Regions from separate parts of the Homo sapiens genome. Here regions 1, 2, 3, 4, 6 and 7 are each linked to region 5. The links are contacts of gene promoters, found by promoter capture Hi-C in blood cells and fetal thymus (Javierre and others, 2016). All regions are on one chromosome and are shown on one strand. Each heading gives the region's core, a stretch centred on a gene start or on the middle of the fragment in contact. The rest is flanking DNA. Distances are from core to core; before and after follow the strand shown. Region 1 overlaps ASB3 (ankyrin repeat and SOCS box containing 3). Region 2 overlaps GPR75-ASB3 (GPR75-ASB3 readthrough). Region 3 overlaps ASB3 (ankyrin repeat and SOCS box containing 3). Region 4 holds the start of ERLEC1 (endoplasmic reticulum lectin 1). Region 5 holds the start of PPP4R3B (protein phosphatase 4 regulatory subunit 3B). Region 6 overlaps PSME4 (proteasome activator subunit 4). Region 7 overlaps PSME4 (proteasome activator subunit 4).

Region 1 (3,004 bases), core at 207-2,706, 1.9 Mb after region 5:
TTAATACATGAAATAAGGGTCATGTCTGACTAATCTCCGACTAATCTCAATAAACTACTTTGAATAAGAGTCAACTTCTGACTAATCTCTGAAACCCTATTTCTGTGATATGTCCTTTTAAAATATGACTACTCTATCTTGCCCTTTAGTTGTGCATCTGTGAAGTTTGAGACTGTTTTCTTTGAATATATGTACTTAGAAGCTGTTACTGGGATATCATGGCTTAATCTACTTGTTTCATCAGTGAGTTACAATGACAAGAATTACTTAAAATAGATAACTAGTTAGGAGCATTTGTTTCAATTCTGACACTTCAAGAAAATGTTTAAGTTTTTTTTTTTATTTTCTGTTTAGTTTATTCCAGCTCTCAGAAATGTCTTCACCCTTCACTTTAGAGCCCATCTTTCTATAATGGGCATAGAATTTTATTGTGTAAATATCATTTGTATAATTTGAGTGTTACCAGAACCTTGACGTTTTCATGACAAATACATTTCGGAAACTTTAACTCATAAATTCCTTATTATATGTCACTGGTTGTGTTAGAGTGCATTTTATTCTTTTAGAACTGCAGTTTTCATTAACAATTAAACCATAGTCTTAAGTTAGAAAAGGAGTATTTAAAACTGCCTCATGGTATTAGTTGACTACAAGGAAGTAATGGTAAGAGATCAGACCATTTCCCTTATAGAAATTTAAAAATAAAAAAATAAAATTGATGAATATTTCGATAAATTCTGTTTAAGCAAATATTTAGTGCTGCATCCTCCTCAGACTATTGCTTTTGTTACCTTTCAATTTCTGCCACTCCTCTTCCCTTATTCACCAAAAATTAGAGAAGAGAAAATGGGAGCTAGTGGACAGGATTTGTGTATTAAGAATACCAAAGAGCTGTTCACAGTGGGATCTCTGTAGAACTTTTTCTTGATTTTCTATAGTTTTAAATGGTGAAACCTGTCATTTATACATTACTTACATTTTAATAGTTCATTAAATTCCTCTTGGAATCTTTGCTTTTTAAAACCAGGAAATAGAAGTAATACCTTCTAGTTGATGGGCTTTGATTCTTCCACAGATTCATCTGAAAACTACATTAAGATGAAGACCTTTGAAGGTTTCTGTGCTTTGCATCTCGCTGCAAGTCAAGGACATTGGAAAATCGTACAGATTCTTTTAGAAGCTGGGGCAGATCCTAATGCAACTACTTTAGAAGAAACGACACCATTGTTTTTAGGTAAGTATGCTATTTGTGGTGCAGATGCAATTTTTCATCATTATTATTTTTTTGTTAAACTAAGCTTAATTTTTCCTTCAGCTGTTGTGCTTATAGTATGTTCTTTTGGCAACTATCATACCACTACTTCCTTGATTTTTGAAACTGAAAAGATATTTTTAAAGGTTTTGCTCTTGTTTTCTATTCTTGGGTGGTAGCTTCTGGGACTTTGTTTATTTAAAGTTGCAAAATCTGTTTCGAATTGTAGGCACCATCATTGTTCTCACTGTAGTTCTGAAGACCAGGTATCACTTAAATTGTAGCAGTAGTTGCAAGGTTACCTGTGAATGCTTTATGTTTGCTTTTGCCTTTTCTTAACATTAAAAAATTAAGAAGCTTTTATGGAAGAAATCACCAGCTAATACTTTAATGCCAGTTAATGTGTTGCCTGTATGGATCTGTTTTTTAATTCAGACCTCTTCTGTTACAGACTGTTTTTTAATTCCTTAAGGACGACAGCCAAATTCTAAATGGCTTTCTTCCAATAACTGTCTTTTTTCTTCTTTTCCTCCTTTTTTCTATTCGATTCTATTTGTCTTCAGGGACATTGTGTCCCATAAAGTTTAGTGGAACATGAGAAAATTGAGTCAATGAAGCGTTTGGAATAGAATCAGTGCATCTGGACTATAGTTTTGGTCCTGCCACATGTAATTTGTATATTTATTTATTTACTATATGTTTCAGTATCCTCACTTATAAAATGAGAGTAATAGTACCTATCTAGTCTTTGTTATTGGTCTGAGAATGAAATGAGTTGTCTGTGAAAGTACTTTTTTTCCTTGTGGACTTAAAAATATTACTTAAATTTATGTACTTTAGTAAAATTCATTCTTTTTAATATAACAGTTCTGTGAGTTTTGATGTATTCATAAAATTCTGTAATGACAACAATCAAGATATAGAACCATTCCATCACTCCTCAAAATTCCATCATGCTGCCAATTTTTAATCAATATTTTCTTCCCTCTCCCCAGCTCCACCCCTGACAGTGACTGATCTGTTCATATATATGAATTAATATACACCATATAGCCTTTGAGACTGGCTTCCTTTAGCTGTCATGATACTTTTGAGATTCATCCATATTGTTGCATGTATCAATAATCCATTTCTTTTTGTTAGCTGAATCGTATTCTATTAAATAGATGTGATTAAATAGATGTGATACAGTTTATCCATTTATCAGTTGGATATTTGAGTTGTTTTCACTGTTTAGTGGTTACGACTAAATCTCCTATAAACATTTGCAGACAGGTTTTGTATCAATATAAGTTTTTATTTCTCTTGGGTTAATACTTAGGATTGGTATGACATATGGTAAATATATGTTTAACTTTGGGAAACAAGTTGGAAGTTTTTTTCTACTGGTTTGCATTTCGTTCAGTAATGTTTGAGACTTTTAGTTGCCCCATATCCTTGCCAACATTTGCTATTGCCAGCTTTTTCTTTTTCTCCCTTACATCTTAGTAATTCTAATGGAGGTTTAGTAGTATCTCACTGTGGTTTTTATTTGCATTTTCCTAATTGCCAATGATGTTGAGCATCTATTCATATGATTATTTTCCATCTTTCCTTTTTCCTCATTACTTTTGTATTTAGACGTTTTGTTTTGAAATAATTTCAGACTTATGGAAGTAGTCAATAACAGTACAAAGGGTTCCTTATATACTTTTCACCCAGATTTTCTTCTTTTGCCAGGTTTGTCATTTAATTTCCTTCTTTGTATTTTTT
Region 2 (2,973 bases), core at 72-2,571, 1.8 Mb after region 5:
GCATTAGATAATCAAAGGTAGAACCATAAAGTCTTTAGAAGGAAATATAGGAGAATATTTTCATGATTTTGGGGTAGAAAAATTTCTTAGAACACAAAAAGCGTTAGCTATTAAAGAGGAATAAATGATAAATTGAATTTCATGAAATAAAAATTTTTCATTCACCAAAAGACATTAATAAGAAAATGGGGCTGGGTGCGGGTGGCTCACACCTATAATCCCAGCAATTTGGGAGGCCGAGGCGGGCAGATTACTTGAGGTCAGGAGTTCGAGACTAGGCTAGCCAACAAGGTGAAACACTGTCTCTACTAAAAATACAAAAATTAGCCGGACGTGGTACCATATATGCCTGTAATACCAGCTACTCGGGAGGCTGAGGCAGGACAATCGCTTGAACCCAGGAGGCGGAGGTTGCAGTGAGCCGAGATCATGCCACTGCACTCCAGCCTGGGTGACAGAGTGAGACTCCATTTCAAAAAAAAAAAAAAAAAAACCAACCAAAACCCAAAAATCAGCCAGGCACGGTGGTGCATGCTTGTAGTCCCAGCTACTTGGAAGGCTGAGGCACAAGAATTGCTTAAACTTGGGAGGCAGAGGCTGCAGTGAGCCAAGATTGCGCCACTGCATTCCAGCCTGTGTAGTGGCCGATGCCTATAATCCCTGCACTTTGGGAGGCAAAGGTGGGAGGATTGCTTGAGTCCAGGAGTTTGAGACCAGCATGGCCAATATGGTGAGACCCTATCTCTATTAAAAAAAAGAAAGAAAGAAAAATGAATAGGCAAGCCACAGACAGAGAAAAAAATATGTGCAATACAAATACAAAGAGTTAATGTCCAGACCTCTGTTAAGATGTGTTGAGAAGTGAGGACCTGAAATGTTCTCAACACATAGAAACAATAAATGCTTATGGTGATGAATATTCTGAATACCCTGACTGGATCACTACATATTCTATGGATGTAACAAAGTATCATATGTAACCTGTAAACATATACAAATACTATGTATCAATAGAAAAAAAATCAACTAAACAAAACACCACCAAAAAAAAGTGTTACACTGAGTCAGAGTTCAGGTACAGAAATATTATACACTATATGATTCCATTCATGTGGAATCCAAAAAAGAGACAAAACTAATCTACAATGTCATAAATCAGAAATGGGTATCTTTGAGCAAGGCTAAGGGGTATTTACTGGAAGGGAGTATGATAGAACTTTCTGCAGTGACATATCTTGTTTTGGGTGATAGTTACATGGGTGTATATAACTGTCAAAACTTATCAAGCTCAACACTTAAGATCTGTGGATTTTATTTCATGTAAATTATATCTCAATAAAAAATGTCAAGAAAAACCATGTCAACTATTACATGAGTGGTATGTGGGCCATATTAAGCCTTGGAGACTACTGAAGGTCCTTCCTAAACTTAATGCAAAAAATTAAAACATGGCAGCCGGGCGTGGTGGCTCACACCTGTAATCCCAGCACTTTGGGAGGCTGAGGTGGGTGGATCACCTGAGGTCAGGAGTTTGAGACCAGCCTGGCCAACATGGTGGAACCCCGTCTCTACTAAAAATACAAAAATTAGCTGGGTGTGGTGGTGTGCGCCTGTAATCCCAGTTACTCGGGAGGCTGAGGCAGAAGAATTGCTTGAACCTGGGAGGCAGAGGTTGCAGTGAGCCAAGATTATGCCACGGCACTCTGCCTGAGCCACAGAGCAAGACTCCGTCTCAAAAAAACAAAAAAAAAAAAAAAAAAAAAGAAAAAAAAATTAAAACATGGCTCAAAATGGAATTTTTGATTATTTTCTTTTTAACTTACCCCAAGAATATATTGACAGGAGTGAGGCTCTAGCATATATACAGTAACAGCATGAGGTGAATCTGATTCTTTGCACCTAAAACAGAGAGCACTTTAAGGTACTGTCCAAATCATTTAAAGTAAGATCACTGTTAATAACTGTACTCTTAAAAATCCCACTCAAGTGGACCCTGTATGATTTAATATAATTTTATCAATAATTTAAATGGTATACTTTCATAATTATTCATAATTATACTGTTTACATAAAACTTTTGTCCATAGGAAGCAGTTAAAAGACAAAGGCATACAGCATGATTTGATGGTCTAACTTACTTTAGTTTTACAGTCACCTGTCTTGGTTTGTCAGTTATATCACAAATATCTCCATTTCCATAAAAATGTGACACCATCCTGAATCAGAGAAACACACAAGTTTTATTAAACTAAAATCTCACTAATAGAATAATTGTAATGGGTAGGGTGAGAAGATGGTTAGAGGGATCAGTTTTGCATTAGTTAAAAAAAAACCTGACTATAAAATATTCTTTAAAAAAATATTTTTAGGGTTATCTCACAGAGGCATTCTCTTGGATTCTATAAAGAGAATATAAGAGATACTTCATACTGGCTTAGTTAATAATTATTTTCAACTTGCATATTATTTATTTGTATACAAATAATTTTGGTTAGATTCCTTTAAAAAAATTGTTTTAAAGTTATCAATTTCCCTAGCCCACTATATTGTTTTGTAAAACAGTTCTTTGCTTCCGTCCTCCATCAAGCTACTCCCATTAAAATACTGTTCGTTAGGCACTGTAGTATAGAAGACAAAGCCTAGGCCAAACTGTCAATCTCAAATGAGCAGGATCCAAAGAAAAGCTTCATTTTACCAGTCTAACACTCATTCTTCAACATATATTGTACATGATACCACAAACTGTTTTCACATAAAACATATACCTACAAGGATAAGAAAAATCAATTTGTTTAGTACAATAATTAAATGTCTGTGGGAGGGGGGAAGATAGCTTTAGGAGATATACCTAATGCTAAATGATGAGTTAATGGGTGCAGCACACCAGCATGGCACATGTATACATATGTAACTAACCTGCACATTGTGCACATGTACCCTAAAACTTAAAGTATTAAAAAAAAAAAAGTCTAT
Region 3 (2,909 bases), core at 200-2,699, 1.8 Mb after region 5:
AGAGAAGAATTCTAAATTTAGGGTAGTTCAAATTGTCTGTGATGATTGTTAATCAAATTGAAACAGAAACATCGCAACATTTTATAAAATTAAAATTATACAAAAAAGAATATTTATACCATACCGCAGGATCTTCAACAAGAGTCACAACTCTTCCAGGCTGTTTTAAAAAGGTAAAAAAAAATTTTTCTGAATTAATAAAGTTCATTAAGTAGCTGAGCATTAGCAACATTTTTGACATGGAATATTTGAATTATATTTGCTCATAAGAAGCACTATTTCTTAAGCATAGTTATTTTTTATGATAAAGCTTAAGTGAATTAAGAGAACCTACCTTATCTAGAGACTGTGTTGGCCTTTCTAAAAGATTTCCATCAATTTATACGTATTAGGTATATTATATTCACTTTACATGGATATATTGGAAAACATACCAGTAACTAAAGGTCATCTAAAATGAAAGGCAAATGGAAGCAGTAATTATAAATATTCTGGTTTTTCCCTTAAGGAAAAAAGAATGTTATAGTTTTATTTATTTATTTATTTATTTTTTGAGACGGAGTTTTGCTCAACAAGCCCAGGCTGGAGTGCAGTGGTGCGATCTTGGCTCACTGCAACCTCCAACTCTCGGGCTCAAGCAATTCTCTCACCTCAGCCTCCTGAGTAGTTGGGATTACAGGTGCCCGCCAAGACACCCAGCTAATTTTTGTATTTTTAGTAGAGACGGGTTTACCATGTTGGCCAGGCTGGTATGGAACTCCTGACCTTAGGTAATCCACCCGTCTCGGCCTCCCAAAGTGCTGGGATTACAGGCGTGAGCCACCGCACCCGGCCTATAGTTTTATTAGGGGAAAAAAAATATGACATAAAGGGTGCTTTCCTATATATAGGGAAGTGACTTTCAAATTTAGTGGATCAAAATGACCTAGAGGGCTTGACAAAGACATTGTTAGGCCACACCTCCAGAGTTTTTGATTCTGTAGGTCTGGAGCTGTCTAAGAATTTGCATTTGTAACAACTTTCCTGCTGATTTCAGAAATTGTTCTGGGGCTCATACTTTAAGAACCACTGCTACCAGGGGATATTAAGAGGTTTTAAGTGAGAGAGAATGAGTGATTTACACTTCTGAGTTATGAAGTGTTCTTACCTTTCTGTATATGGTAATGGTGCTTCAAGGTAGGCATTTCTTTTACATTCATAAATGAACTTTACTTTGCCCTATTTAAAGGTCAGTATTAGAACTGGCCTATTCGTGTAGTTCTTATATGGGACAATCAGACCACTTGTGTTCTAGGCAATTTTATTTTCCCATTTTGGTTTTAACACAGGTCAGTTAACAATATTATGGAAAGCTTCACTTTTTACTATTCAACTTGAGGTTGAAATGATATATTATGAAGCCAAAACAAGTTTTATTTGTTCTCCCATTTCAAAGACTGATAAAACAGTCTTTGCTTATAAATGGAAAGCCTTAGAGAAAGTCCAGACTTGGAATGTTCCATAATTTAAGGCACAAAGGTGACACCTATCAGTGCCTGCAAGCTTTTTTTTTTTTTTTTTTTTTTTTTAAATAAACTTCGTCCACGGAGTACCAAAGGCTGTATGTGTACTGATACCTTAACATCATTCATGGGAATGCTGAGTCATAAGCCACAATTTTACCTACTTGTATGCCCAATGTCTGGCACATAGCGAGCCTAAATCATCCAGGCATTTGTGTCATCTTTGTTGCTATTTCCTTTTAGTCTTCATCTGTTCGTATAGATAATTTGTAATCATGGAACACATGGGATTTTGGATTATGATTTCTCATTTAATTTTCCTGTTAGTCTTCTCATACATTTTAATAGTTGCATAATATTGTGTCATTGATGAACTATAAACGTTCCTGTGTTCTTGGACATTTAGATTTCTGACTTGTTTTCTTTTTAAGATGATGCTACAATGAGGATATATATATATTGGTGAGGGTCAAGTAGATAATGCCATATTATTTTCAATTTCAAAGTGAATTAGAAGTTATTTATGCATAGCTACTGTGTGCTGTGGAGAAGATGAAATCTTGATTCTTGGTTCCAGTAGCTTATATTGTCATTCTAGAATGCAAACTAACATGTGAAATAAATAGAGCTAAGATATGGGCTAAGATGTATGGTATTAAGTGCAGTTAGAATTCTGAGTCTTAGGTGATCAGAAAGACACCTTTTTTTAGCTCTTTTTTTTTGAGACGGAATTTCACTCTTGTTGCTCAGGCTGGAGTGCAGTGGCGCAATCTCAGCTCACCGCAACGTCTGCCTCCCAAGCGATTCTCCTGCCTCAGCCTCCAGAGTAGCTGGGACTCTACTGGCGTGCGCCACCACGCCCAGCTAATTTTGTATTTTTAGTAGACAGGGGGTTTCTCCATGTTGGTCAGGCTGGTGTTGAACTCCCGACCTCAGGTGATCCACCCGCCTAGGCCTCCTAAAGTGCTGGGATTATAGGCGGGAACCACCACGCCTGGCCAGCCCCTTTCTCCTTTTAAAGAATCACGGACTGTTGTGTTGACTAGGCAATTTCTAATCATCAGTCTATTCTGACAGCATACATATCTCAATGTGTTTTGTAACACACTGTACATTTTCGTCAAGACTAGTAAAGTATGTTGTTATAGCCACATACATAAATATTTAATACTTGGTCATTATAATTGGAGCCTGGGCTAAAGGTTTTCTTTTCGGAATGGCAATTTTAAATATTCATATCAAAACTGACAACTCTCAAACTCCTGGCCTCAAGCAGTCCTCCTGGCTCAAACTTCCGAAGTGTTGGGATCAGAGGCGTGAGCTACCGGGCCCAGCCAAAACTGACAACTCAGAAGCCATTTAATTTAGCTTAGTTCTTTAATGTCTTGAATATTGTTCTAGAACATT
Region 4 (2,988 bases), core at 401-2,900, 1.8 Mb after region 5:
AGAACATTTGGTTCACACATGTAATCCCAGTATTCTGGGAGGCTCAGGCACGAGGATTGCTTGAGCCCAGGAGTTCGAGACCAGCCTAGGCAACATAGTGAGACCCTGCCTCTAGAAAAAAAAAAAAAAATTAGCCAGGAGTGGTGGGATTTCCCTATAGTCCCAGCTACTGGGAAGCTGAGGAGATCTCTTGAGCCCAGGAGGTCGAGGCTGCAGCCAGTGGTGACCGTACCACTGCACTTCAGAATGGGCAACAGACTGAGACCCTGTCTCAAAAAACAAACAAAAACAGAAAAACCCAAACCAAACCAAACCAAACCAAAAAACCCCTAACACTTGCAAATAGAAAGCTATGTGGTAATAACATCCATTAACTTGACACATCTTGTTTTGACATCATAGTGTCACTTACTGTTTCAATGAAATGGTAATGAAAGAATATAATAAAGTATTGCAAGTTGAATGCTTGAAGGTAATTGGAATAAAAAGTTTAAAAAAATTTTGCTTTTTCCGGGACTTCAATTTGAAGTAAATGAGTTAATTACTACATGGTAAGTGTCATAAGAGTACAATATTTATTAGCCTGCAGTAGGTACACGTGGACAGGAAGACTTTTCAGCGGTCCACTCCCCCAAGAGGGAATTTTCATTTCCGCGAGGTTACAAATGTTCTTCACTACAGGAAAACTCAACATAGAAGCTCATGTTCTGGGGACTCAAATAACAGTCGTAATACATGAAAACTGTAAAGGATATTCTGCATAAAGGGTCGTTAACATCTCACAGGCCAAATAGCCCTCTCAGAAACAACTAGGAAAGGAAAAAGTTCCCTTGGAGCTGTGCGTTTGCGTATGTCCGTGTGTGTATACAACTGAGGGAGAACGAATACGAGAGAGGGAACTCGAGTCTGAAGTACTGTGGTGTGGGCAGGGTGACATGTAATACTGAAGGAAAGAAGTCTGCTGGTGAAGTAAGAGCCACAGTTAATTTTCCGAAAGGAAGATGAGTAAGTGCACCTGACGTTATTCTACGAAAGCTGCTTCTGCAGGGTGGGAATGTTGGGAAGCAAGGTCTAGTGCGACAGAATTGAAAAGGTGGAGAGCAGGTGATTGCTGGATCCCTAATGCTCAGCAAGGGGGACGCATCCACATAACGTGAGAACGAACGAATGAATGAACGCTGCATAAAAGCAGCTTTGGCTTGGGGAAGGTAAGAGTCTGCAGAGAAGGTCTTGGGGAGAAAAAGCAAAGAAAACCGAGGGAAGAGGCCGAACCCTTAGTGTCAGGAGGAGGGGTGGCTGCGGGGTTAGTGAGGGCACTGACCAGAGAGAACTCGGTGCCGGGCCAGTTGACTCGGAAAGGGATGTCATCGCTGAGTTGAGGAAGGGCTCGGCCGCCGCCGGACGCCTCCAGGAGGCCGCAGAGGACCAGTAACACCGGCCCGCCCGGGACCAGACTCCGTACGCCGCCGCCTCCTTCCTCCATCCTCCGCCGCCGCTTTCTCCAGCCACCGCCACAACCTCCTCTGCTCCAGGAGGAGAGGAGGAGGAGGAGGAGGTGGAGGAGGAGGCGGCGGGACTATAAAGCGCCCGGGTATCACCGGCCCAACCGCCGCCACGTCTCCTTCCGGAGAGCCCGGCAACGCCGCCTCCGCCCCCTTGAGCCTCCTGTCACCGTTTCCGGGGCAGACGACATATCAACATCCGGGGGTCGCGGAGCCGTCCGCCTACGGGGGCCGGGACGTCGCCTGCGCGTCTCTCGTTTTCGGACGGCTGCAGCATCGCGGTGGGGATCGAAAGCGGGGGCTTCTGGGACGCAGCTCTGGAGACGCGGCCTCGGACCAGCCATTTCGGTGTAGAAGTGGCAGCACGGCAGGTCGGTGAGTCTCGGAGGCGGCAGCCGCTTCCTGAAGCCATTCCCGCTGCTCTCCAGTGGGCAGGCAGAGGTTTGACCCACACGGAGTGATAGCGGGAAGAAGACAGTGTGAACCGTGCGGGTGCGGGTCCTTAGATGAGAAAATTCGAAGTAGCGATGAGATGTGAGAAATGGCGGTGTTCCTGACTGACCTGCCTTCTTGCAGCTTTTCTTCTTTTTCTCCGCATTTGGCATTTGTACACTTCATTTTTCCCGCTTGAGGCTTATCTCCATCTCTTCTGCTGTGGACCGTGGCCATCTCGTTACTTAACAGCTTCTGACTAACGCAGGGCAGTTTGTTCAGCGACTGCAACTCTGTGTTAGGGGAAACCTGGGGTGAGGTAGCCCGCCATCTCCCCGTAGGTGAATACCGCAAGCCTCCGAATTTGGCGTGGTGGGCGACTCTCGTGGAATGGGCAGCTAGACATCACAACCCTACATTTTTACCCTCCATCTCTAGATTGAAGTGTTGGGGTGTTGTTTTATCAAGGAAGCTGGTAAGGTTCCTTATGTGAGGTTTAGCGCCAGATGAATGTGTGTGTTTATGAACTAAGTCACGTCTGACTGCATCCCCAAATTAGACAAAAAGTTTTGTTTTTCCCTCCCCCTCTTTAGAAAAAATGCCATTGTCTGTTTTGATCTCCAATATAATGGACATAGAGTGTTGGCTTTAGAGAAATTACCATTCCCTAAAGCTCGACAGTCTTGCTAGATCTGTTAAAGACTGGTCGCCCCCACTTCCTCAGATTTGAACCAAATCAAAAAGCAGGAAGGACAGTCCCATATTCTATCTTAAAAATTTTTTTTTAACATCAGGAATCCATAGTATCAAAGAAGATAACTTTCTTCAGAATTGTTATTCGCTAATTATATTCAGCACTTCTTATTAATGCTTAATGTGATCCAGACTCCTGGGATTTTTGTTGTTGTTGTTTGTTTTGAGACAAAGTCTCGCTCTGTCACCCAGGCTGGAGTGCAGAGGCATAATCTTGGCTCACTGCAACCTCCGCCTCTGGAGTTCAAGGGATTCTCCTTTTTCTCAGCCTTCCGAGTAGTTGGGATTACAGGCGCGCGCC
Region 5 (3,058 bases), core at 385-2,884:
AGGCTCAAAAATTGTGTGAAGCATTCTCTGACTCTTCCAAGACAGAAATGTTATTTTCTCTGAGGTCAAAATACATTTTGTCCACTTTCATCACATCAATTAATTGGCTCTATTGTTATGTATTATATTATGATGATTTTCTTCAAGTACATTTTCTGAGGTCTCTAGATTAAAAAAAAAAACTATGAATCCAGATTTTGAAATTATTTCTATCAGCATGTGTTCTGTACACTGACCCACGTTGTAGTGTACTGCTGAAGGGTGTCCACACTTAAGCGATCTGGTCAAAACATAAGCACGTTTTAACAAGACCATTGATTAGTTATGACTACAACTCCCAAGATGCACTGCAGGGTCAGTGTGCGCGTCTCGCCTAGTTTTCACCGATCAGGCTAATGAGCTGCACAGAAGTGGCAGCTGAACAAGCTGAGAGACTGTATTAAAGAACGAATATAGCGGGGATGGGGAGCAGGCGTCTACGGTCCCAGCTACTCGGGAGGCTGAGGTGAGAGGATCGCTTGAGCCCTCAAGGCGGAGGCTACAGTGAGTCGAGATAGCGCCATTGCACTCTAGCCTGGGAAGCAGAGAGAGACTATCAAAAACAACAAAACGAATAAAGGGATTCTACCAAGAGTGAGCTGGACTGAAATAAACGACACGCTACTACGACCCAGCGCGTGACTATATCCACCGCACAATGTGCGATAATAGCCTCAATGCAGAGAGAATTCCTCCTTTCCTTATTCAGTGCAAGAGAGCCCTATAGAGAACGCAGGAAATGCCCGCGAGAAACTGAGAAGTATCAAAACAATCACAGATATGTTAGGAAAGTAGCTCCCCGCCACTTCCCTAAACTTATCATAGCAGACTTACTTTCCAAGGTTACAAACACAAGAAGAGCACTGTATTTTCATGAAGCGGAAAATGTGCTTTACAATCGCCAGCTACTAAGAGCCTTAACGGTGAAGCGCTCTGCAAGAAACAGGAAATCGTCAACACACTTTCTGCATGAATTGCCTGGAGAGTTGTGTCCATAGACAATTCCTGGTTAGATGCTTAATTGTAGCAGACTCCATAACGGGGTTTAGCGGGTTTCCATTCGGCAGAAAGGGCTCCACGTTCTTTTTCACAGAAAGGTTTAAACTTATTTTTCCTCCTCAGGCGGACGAAGTGAGCGTCGTTCCGTGAAGGTATGAAACCCTTTTCCTTCCTTTCTGTCCCTGGTTACTCCGGTTCAAGGCTACGTACTTCCCCGGTTTGCTTTGTTTTTTCCTCAGAGCTAAGTTCCTAGGAACGTCACATACTGGTGCCATCCAACAACATGACGACGTGCGGAACCGAAGTCCCCTTCCACCTAGCGGCCTCTCGCGGCGCAGGCGTGGACGGGGAGATCGCGAGAACCTCCCGCCCAATTGCGACCCCGCGCCAAGAGGCGGGGCCGAAAGAGGAGGAAGTCGGGCCGAAAGAGGAGGAAGTCTCGCCGAAGTACTCCCGCCCCAGTCGGTACCCCTCCTCGCGAGAGCGCCGAGCATTCCGGCCTGGGAAGCGCGTGCAGAAGCGGAGGTGCTGCTCATGGGACTTGTCGGCCGCCGTAGCCCCTGCTAGGACAGCCCGTGCGAGCCTGCTGGAGGAGGAAGAGAAAGGCAGAGAGAGTCGGGTTACAAGATGGCGGATCTGTAGTAGTTACCGCGGCGGCGGGAGAGCAAGCGAGCCCTGGGGGGCAAAGAGACGGGAGAGTGGGTGTATGCGCGGGTGAAGTGAGAGGTAACGGGGCCTCCGGGCGGAGAGGCCTCAGTGGCTCTTGTCACCCCTTCTCGCGGCTGAACCTTTGGAGCCATGGTGAATTCGGGCCTCTCCGAAGCCGCCGCCGCCGCCACCGCCACTACTGCCTTTACCGTCTCCTAAGAGTGAGGAGCGCGGACGAGGTAAGCGAGGAGGCGGCGGCTAGAGCGGTGGAGACAGCAGCCACCATGTCGGATACGCGGCGGCGAGTGAAGGTCTATACCCTGAACGAAGACCGGCAATGGGACGACCGAGGCACCGGGCACGTCTCCTCCACTTACGTGGAGGAGCTCAAGGGGATGTCGCTGCTGGTTCGGGCAGAGTCCGACGGTAAGGTTATCGGAACTGTAGAATAGGGGATAGTGCCTCTGGTTGGGGCACAGCTTGGGTTTAGGGCCCTGGGCCCGTTACCGTTGCTACTCCTTCGGGACAGCGCGTTGGTTCTGAACTGGCTCTTGTGTACGGCAAAAACAAAGTACTGTACTTTTGACTGGACTTATCCTCGGAGACCGAGACTCTCTGTCCTTCTCCCATCTCTCTTAAGGATTGGACTCCTTCCTTTCCAGTCCCTCCTCTTTTGAAGAGGGGAGAGTGTGAGAGAGAAGGGAGGAAGTAGTGAGAGACTAGGTACTGATGTCGCCCTAGGAGCTGACACCTTCCTCCCCCTTTATTTACTTATCCATTATACGTCTAGTACAAACGGTTTAGGGAAACTTTTCTTTCCGAGTGTTTTTAAAAAAAAAAAATTGTACCAACGGGCCCCAGGTGCCACAGTCGACAGGTGCTGGGGAAAACCGAAAGGCACGTTTTCCTGGCTGTATTGCTGACTGTTGCCACGATACATGGACACACAAGCACATACATCTGTAGTCTGCATTTCTTCGGGCTGCCTTTGTAGAAGGCGCTATGAGAAAGTGAATGCCTTACAATCTAAGCAAGTTGGGACACCAAAGCAGGTTGTAAACTGCTGTGTTCTTTGGTTTATTGTAGTCATGTGAAGTATTTTAAATTACAAAATGTAGAGCCGTAATTAAAATGCCTTTTATAGTATAATCTGGACTTGATTTGAACAACTGATATAGGCAGTTAGAAAAATAATCTTAGGTTTAGTCTTGACATATTTTGTATTCTTGCTTGTTCCCTTTTATTTTAAATAGTCATCACTTCTACAGAAGGTGTTCTTTTGTTCTTAATGAGGAAAGGATAAATGCAGCACTGTAATTTCTATACTAAGTATTTAATCCCTGTCATGATGTTTTTGTTTTGTAATTTGCAT
Region 6 (2,912 bases), core at 115-2,614, 1.7 Mb after region 5:
ATGTTCAGAGATTGCAGTAAAGACAGGCATAATAAATTATAAAAGTATTAATTTGGGGAACTAATAAATGTCCATGAAATCTTCACAATTTATGTTCTTCTGCCATGGCTTCAGCCGGTCCCTCCGTTTGGGGTCCCTGACTTCCTGCAACAGCCAGTAGAAAGTAAATGAATATGTGCTTTTGCTAGACACTCCTACACACCCCTCTTTATTGGTTATTTCCTCAGAGACTCACTTTTACAGTATGATATTAAACATCCCGATTTTTCCCAGTAGAACAGGTGGAAACATATAACTCAGTATGGTTTTAATTTGCAAAAAGAAATAATTTTTATTCTAAAATACCAAGGATTATATTAACTGAGGTAAAATATTTAAAGCTCAGCATTATGAAATGTCTTTGCATACCCATAACAAAAAAAGAACTGAATCATGCCTTTGTTATGACAAAGGCTCTCCTTGACCAAACTTAAGTCAGCTCCTCTGAGCCATCTTTCTGACTAGATCTCAACCTTGGGCTCTGTCTTTGGCCTGTCTGTCTTTGGTCCAGTTTTAGCAAGACTGTCTCTAATCTAGTTTAGAAAGAATCCCCCACCCTTGGTATCTGATCACCCTATTCTACCTTTTGCAGGAATCCCGTTAAGTAGGTTTAGGAGGAAACCTCCTACCCCTGATGTCGCTGAATAAACTTTTCCTTAATAATTTATCAAATGTCAGAATAATTTTTTTTAACAACAGTTTCAAGCTGAGTGTATTAATTCACTATGATAGTTTGTCCAGTATTTGATAGAAATAATTTCCCTTAGCAAACTTTATTTTTTTTTTAAGAGACAGGGTATCACTCTGTCACCCTGGCTAGAGTGCAGTGCTGTGATCATAGCTCACTGTAACCTTGAACTCCTGGGCTCAAGCAATCTTCCCACCTCAGCCTCCCAAGGACTATAGGCATGTGGCACCAAGCCCAGCTAATTTTTTTTTTTTTTTTTTTTTTTGTAGAGGCAGGATCTTGCTCTGTTATCCATGCCAGCCTCATGAGAATCCCTCCAACTTAGCACCCCGGAGTCCCTTAGCAAACTTTATTAAAGCTTTCCCCTACTGAATGTGCAAGGGTATATTTTTTAAATATTTAAAACGTATTTAAGGCATCAGACAGCATACATTCATAGTCAAAGTATGGTACCAGACAAACCTGATTTCTTCATTAAAACAAATACGGATACTGGGTACACTGGCCCATGCCTGTAATCTCAGCACTTTGGGAGGCCAGCGCAGGAAGATTGCTCAAGCCCAGGAGTTTGAGACCAATCTGGGCAACACAGTGAGATTCTGTCTCTACCATACATTTAAAAAAAAAAATAGCTGGACACGGTGGTGCGTGCCTGTGGTCCCAGCTACTCAGAAGGCTGAGGTGGGAGGATCACCGACCCCAGAAAGTTGAGGCTACAGTGAGCCATGGTTGTGCCACTACACTCCAGCCTGGGCTACAGCGCAAGACCCTGTCTCAAAAAAAAAAAAAAAAAAAAGAATGACAGTGGCTACAGCCATCAGATTTGTTGGAATTCATAATGATAGTCTTTTAAAAATTCTTATCTACTTTTGGAGGACAGAAGGGAAATCATTATTCCAAATGAGGGAAAGCTTATATATATATATATAAGTATTCTAGCTAATAATGAAGAAGGAATGACCATTTCGCAAATCTCTCTTTTTATAATGGATTATCACAGAAAGACAAAGCTAAATATCAATGAAAGAAATACACAGCACCACTTATGTTGTGCCCAAAAAAGTGAAACTTCAATAAAGTCAGACCTTTACATCTAATAGCCAATTTATAAGACTTACTGGGGCCAAGGAATACCACTGCAGGGATGCAATCAGCAAAGGCCACAGTGGGGAAACTATAAAACAACAGACACAGCTTTTTTTCCCTGAGGAAAAAAAATACAGAGCAAGGGATTTTAAGATAGTTGCGGGGGGGAATATATGCATTGAAAGAGATTTATGAAACATACCAAGTAAGTACAATATGTGGTCATTACCTTAAACCTGATTTCAAAAAACCAGTTGTAATAACACATGAATGTGGTACTTGGGGAAATCTGAGTACCGCCACATATTTTATATTATAACTGTAACGAAGTTTTATGTGTGATGATGTCCATTACATGATTCTTTTTTAAGGGACCTTTTAGAAATAACATAATAAAATATTTAGGATGAAACAGTCAGGGATTTGCTTCAAATAATTTCATTGGGGAATGAGAGTCAGAGGGGAGGAAAAATGAAACAAAAGATTATGAGTTTGTCATTATTGAAGAGGTGATTGGCTCATGGGGGTTCATTATGCTATTCTCTAGTTTATGTGTTTGAAATTTTCCATAAAAATTGTTAAATTAAAGATGTGTTGTCTCTCATGTAGGATGCCTTTGTACTTATTGGCAATTATTTTTCCATTTTTGTCCTTTTTACATTGTTTTTTAGATTGCCCCAGTGGAAAATGACAATAGCTACGATGAACTGAAAAGAGATGCAAAGTTATGTTTATCATTAATGTCTCAGGGGTTGCTTTACCCTCATCAAGTGCCTTTGGTACTTCAGGTGCTAAAACAAGTAAGAGTGTTTATAATATTTATGTCTTTTGATTAGGATTTTGGTTTACCATTCTAAGAATTTCAGTCAGCTGCAGTGCACACAGCGCCTAGTTTTTGTTTTGAATTTTCTTTTAGTATAAGAGAAGACATATATATTGACCAAAGAAACAGACCTAGATTCTGTGCCTGGCTCTGCCCCTGCCTTCTGTGACTTTGGGCAAGTCAGTCAAGCCAAAAATATGCAGATAGCTAATTCATTATTAAGTGCTTTGGATAAAAAGTGCTTATGAGGAAGGTGGATGGTGGTTCCTTTCTACC
Region 7 (3,089 bases), core at 255-2,754, 1.7 Mb after region 5:
ATTACGTCATTTTTAGTTAAATCATCCTTAGGATCTCAGCTTTTACTAACTTTTCGCTCAAAGAAATTCATACTTAAGGTCTAATAGTGAGACCATTTCATTGATATGTGAAAGGATGTGTTGCTTATGCAATGAGGGGCAGGGCTAGCTAACCTCTCTTGGCACCTCCAGGAAACTACCCAGCTCTGCTGGGGGAGCTGCACACAGAAAAGGAAACAGTTACTACTCCACGGTGAGTAACCCTGTTTTCTCCTTATTTCACCTTCTGACTGTTTTCATTTATTTTTAAAAGCTTATGTGTCAGACTTGGAAGTAGTTCCTGTTTTCAGAGTTAATTTAAAATCTAGCAACATATAAGATTTCTCTTTATTTAGTGACCCTTTGTTCACTGGCAGGATAAGAGCCAGGTTTTCATTTGTGTTTATAGTTATTATTGCTACCTAGGATTGAATTGGATAATAGAACACAAAAATAGGCCTAACTGTCTCTTGTGAGACATTTGTACTTTGAAGGGAAAAAATCTATTAGTGGCTTGGTTTTACATCTTTTATGTTTATTTTTATTTGGAAGGGGAAGGGTTATTGGGAAGATAGGATGTTCTTTCACTTATACACAGGAAGAATTTTATATTATTGTTTACAGCTGTTTCATGACAATTCGCCCAGCCTTCATTTACATATGTGATTTGTATTATATATTTTGTTTTTGTGTTATTAGTTATTTCTTTTTCAGCATCCCTTCTTTCCTACCAGTGATTCTTTTCATAGTCCTGCTCTAATCATATCTAAAGAAGATTCCCATCTAGTGGTACGAATACTATAGTTGTTGAAAATTCATAGGTCCTTTTTTAGTGGTACAAATATTTTAATACATTTTACTATATGTTAGGTGGCCTGGTACTATCTAGAAGCTATGAAGCAGATTTAATTTTATTATTATTACATAGAGGGTGTTATTTACAGTATGTTGTGCTGGAATTATTTTTTTGAATTGTATTGTTCCTTAGGTTAAATGATACTATGGTTTGTAAAATGAACTAGTGAATGAGTAGGATGGATTTCACATGAGGAAGGGAGAGGTAGTGATGGAATTTGATTTGACTTACATATTGTTAACATAGCTTTTAGTCAGAATATAGATCTGTAAGACAGTGCCTTAAGACTATTCACTTAAGATTATGTGCATAGCTAAAAGCTACCAGAACAGTTTAATATATCACAGATTACATCCTGGGCACAATGAGATCTATAATGTCACAAAGAGATACAGTCATGATATTTTACTTGGGTAATGGGTAGAGATTTCTTTTAGTAAAAAATCTTCTAAAGGTCAGAAGAGGTAGGATACTATGGCTCATGCCTGTAATCCCAGTGCTTTGGGAGGTGGAGGTAGGAGGATTGCTTGGGGCCAGGGATTTGAGACCAGCTTGGGCACCATAGCGAGACCCTGTCTCTACCAAAAAGTAAATAAACAAAATTAGCTGGCGAGGTGGTGTGCACCTGTAGTACCAGCTACTCAAGAGCCTGAGGTGTATGTGAGTCCACTTGAGCCAGGAAGGTTGGGGCTGCAGTGAGCCATGATCGTACCATTGCACTGCAGCCTGGGTGGCAGAGGGAGATCCTATCTTGAAAAATAAATAAATAAATAGCTACACTTGCTGAGAAGCATTTATTGTAAATCATGTTAATCCAGTTAATTTGTGGTAGGCAAGAAGAGATCAAATTATGGTGGATAAGAATAAACAAAAGCTGTAATGTATACTACCCAGATATGTCCTATATATAGTCTTCCCTTGGTGAAGTTAGGGGATTGGACCTACAGCATACCAAAATACATTCATACTCAAGTGCCACAGTAGGCCCTGTAGAGCTCACATACAGGAAAAGTCAGCCCTCCATATGTGTAGATTTCTCATCTGGCTAATACATTTAGTTGAAAAAAAAATCTGCGTGTAAGTAGACCCACACCTGTGTTGTTCAAGGGTCACCTCTGTGTAGGAGATATGGAAGCTGTATTTTAATCCAAGTTTTAAAAGTCGAGGAAGAAGATAAGGCTTTTATTTAAATACATTACTTAATATTTTACAATCTTATACAGGATTTTTTAAAGTAGTCAGCATAAATGATTATTTTTCAAATTCCCTGATAAGAAAACAATTCAAAGTGTCACATGGATTTTAAGAAATTTGGTGTCAGGACTCTTAGATGAAACTTGTTTGAAAAACTTTAAATTCCCAAATGACAGGCTTTTTAGATATAGTAAAAACTATGGAGAATAATTGGTTATAAAGAATGCTTTTTTTAATTTGTATAATATGACAGTAACTAAAGTGACAGTAATTAAAATTCATGCTTGATTTAATATTATATGGCATTAGATACAGACTGCATAAGCTGCAGACTGTATATTTCTACTTCAGAAAACTAAGTGTTTATGGCAGCAGTGGGGAGACACATACTCTAATAGGATGGCTCATAGCAAGCACTTCCCCTGCTCTAACAGTGGGCGGGGGGAGGGTGGGAACTCTCTTGTGCTTTATTCTTGTTACTCTTGAGTACAGGCCTTTTCTCTTTGGTGAAATCTAATTTCAGTAAAGACATAACGTTCATGTAAAGGAATCTGATTTTATTTTTTACTAACAGATTTTGGATACATACATATTTTTGATCATGCAAAAATATTTAAGATGCTCAGGTTTGCCAGTGGTTGAAGCTTTATAGAAGGAAAACAAAATTTTAAGAGGAATTTGGTCTTGAAAGTCTGAAAAAGCAAATTAACGTTTGATACTATTAATATACAATATTAATAAGCTTTGAAGTAAGTTAGTGAAAAAGAAGCCATTCTTTGTTTATACTCTATGGGCTTGGTTTTGAAACTTGAGAAGGTATTGTTGCTATCCTCTGTACTGGGTTATGGTGAGAAACATAGTTAAATAACTGACATTTTAGAAATATGTTTTTACCTATTACTTAGATAAATACCTGAATTCATAACTGTCAAATATTAAGGTAGAGATAACCCATTTAATTCAGCTACTTTTTGAGGGTATACAATATAGCTGGGGATGTGTTGATTTAAAAATAGTATTT

The links. Contacts are between HindIII fragments. The CHiCAGO score rates a contact against its expected background, and 5 or more counts as called.
Region 1: a contact is called between a fragment that was not itself captured here and the fragment with the promoter of PPP4R3B in region 5, in 4 of 17 cell types (total B cells, total CD8 T cells, naive B cells and 1 more). The highest score is 7.9, in total B cells.
Region 2: a contact is called between a fragment that was not itself captured here and the fragment with the promoter of PPP4R3B in region 5, in 1 of 17 cell types (total B cells). The highest score is 6.3, in total B cells.
Region 3: a fragment that was not itself captured here is called in contact with the fragment with the promoter of PPP4R3B in region 5 in 9 of 17 cell types (total B cells, naive CD4 T cells, activated CD4 T cells and 6 more); the score reaches 16.8 in total B cells.
Region 4: the fragment with the promoter of ERLEC1 here is called in contact with the fragment with the promoter of PPP4R3B in region 5 in 10 of 17 cell types (total B cells, monocytes, naive CD8 T cells and 7 more); the score reaches 13.9 in total B cells.
Region 6: a fragment that was not itself captured here is called in contact with the fragment with the promoter of PPP4R3B in region 5 in 1 of 17 cell types (total CD8 T cells); the score reaches 6.0 in total CD8 T cells.
Region 7: a contact is called between a fragment that was not itself captured here and the fragment with the promoter of PPP4R3B in region 5, in 6 of 17 cell types (M1 macrophages, total B cells, naive B cells and 3 more). The highest score is 8.1, in M1 macrophages.

What each region holds. Positions count from the first base shown.
Region 1 is chr2:53,749,013-53,752,016 of GRCh38, reverse strand. It overlaps ASB3 (ankyrin repeat and SOCS box containing 3), which reads left to right. Exons shown (of 10, transcript NM_016115.5): 3 at 1,076-1,234. GPR75-ASB3 (GPR75-ASB3 readthrough) reads left to right here. Exons shown (of 10, transcript NM_001164165.2): 3 at 1,076-1,234. Among named protein-coding and RNA genes, the nearest start is that of CHAC2, 17 kb to the left of the region's middle. The HindIII fragment of the contact is 311 bases long and covers 1,301-1,611 here.
Region 2 is chr2:53,813,786-53,816,758 of GRCh38, reverse strand. The region is part of intron 1 of GPR75-ASB3 (GPR75-ASB3 readthrough); the gene reads left to right. It overlaps ERLEC1 (endoplasmic reticulum lectin 1), which reads right to left. Exons shown (of 14, transcript NM_015701.5): 12 at 2,139-2,216; 13 at 1,824-1,899. Among named protein-coding and RNA genes, the nearest start is that of ERLEC1, 28 kb to the right of the region's middle. The HindIII fragment of the contact is 2,730 bases long and covers 1-2,686 here.
Region 3 is chr2:53,769,158-53,772,066 of GRCh38, reverse strand. All of the region lies in intron 1 of ASB3 (ankyrin repeat and SOCS box containing 3), which reads left to right. The region is part of intron 1 of GPR75-ASB3 (GPR75-ASB3 readthrough); the gene reads left to right. It overlaps CHAC2 (ChaC glutathione specific gamma-glutamylcyclotransferase 2), which reads right to left. Exons shown (of 3, transcript NM_001008708.4): 2 at 125-160. Among named protein-coding and RNA genes, the nearest start is that of CHAC2, 2.8 kb to the right of the region's middle. The HindIII fragment of the contact is 190 bases long and covers 1,355-1,544 here.
Region 4 is chr2:53,785,706-53,788,693 of GRCh38, reverse strand. ERLEC1 (endoplasmic reticulum lectin 1) reads right to left here and starts at 1,650. Exons shown (of 14, transcript NM_015701.5): 1 at 1,322-1,650. The coding sequence starts at 1,483. It overlaps ASB3 (ankyrin repeat and SOCS box containing 3), which reads left to right and starts at 1,741. Exons shown (of 10, transcript NM_016115.5): 1 at 1,741-1,873. The region is part of intron 1 of GPR75-ASB3 (GPR75-ASB3 readthrough); the gene reads left to right. RefSeq lists enhancers at 1,658-2,077, 1,593-2,251. The HindIII fragment of the contact is 9,655 bases long and covers 1-2,988 here.
Region 5 is chr2:55,616,198-55,619,255 of GRCh38, reverse strand. It overlaps PPP4R3B (protein phosphatase 4 regulatory subunit 3B), which reads left to right and starts at 1,634. Exons shown (of 17, transcript NM_001122964.3): 1 at 1,634-2,112. The coding sequence starts at 1,971. It overlaps PPP4R3B-DT (PPP4R3B divergent transcript), which reads right to left and starts at 1,326. Exons shown (of 3, transcript NR_186624.1): 1 at 874-1,326. RefSeq lists enhancers at 1,264-1,313, 1,334-1,733, 827-1,751, 1,752-2,678. The HindIII fragment of the contact is 10,945 bases long and covers 1-3,058 here.
Region 6 is chr2:53,875,328-53,878,239 of GRCh38, reverse strand. PSME4 (proteasome activator subunit 4) reads left to right here. Exons shown (of 47, transcript NM_014614.3): 42 at 2,485-2,613. Among named protein-coding and RNA genes, the nearest start is that of GPR75-ASB3, 17 kb to the right of the region's middle. The HindIII fragment of the contact is 553 bases long and covers 1,088-1,640 here.
Region 7 is chr2:53,911,014-53,914,102 of GRCh38, reverse strand. All of the region lies in intron 20 of PSME4 (proteasome activator subunit 4), which reads left to right. Among named protein-coding and RNA genes, the nearest start is that of GPR75-ASB3, 53 kb to the right of the region's middle. The HindIII fragment of the contact is 2,420 bases long and covers 295-2,714 here.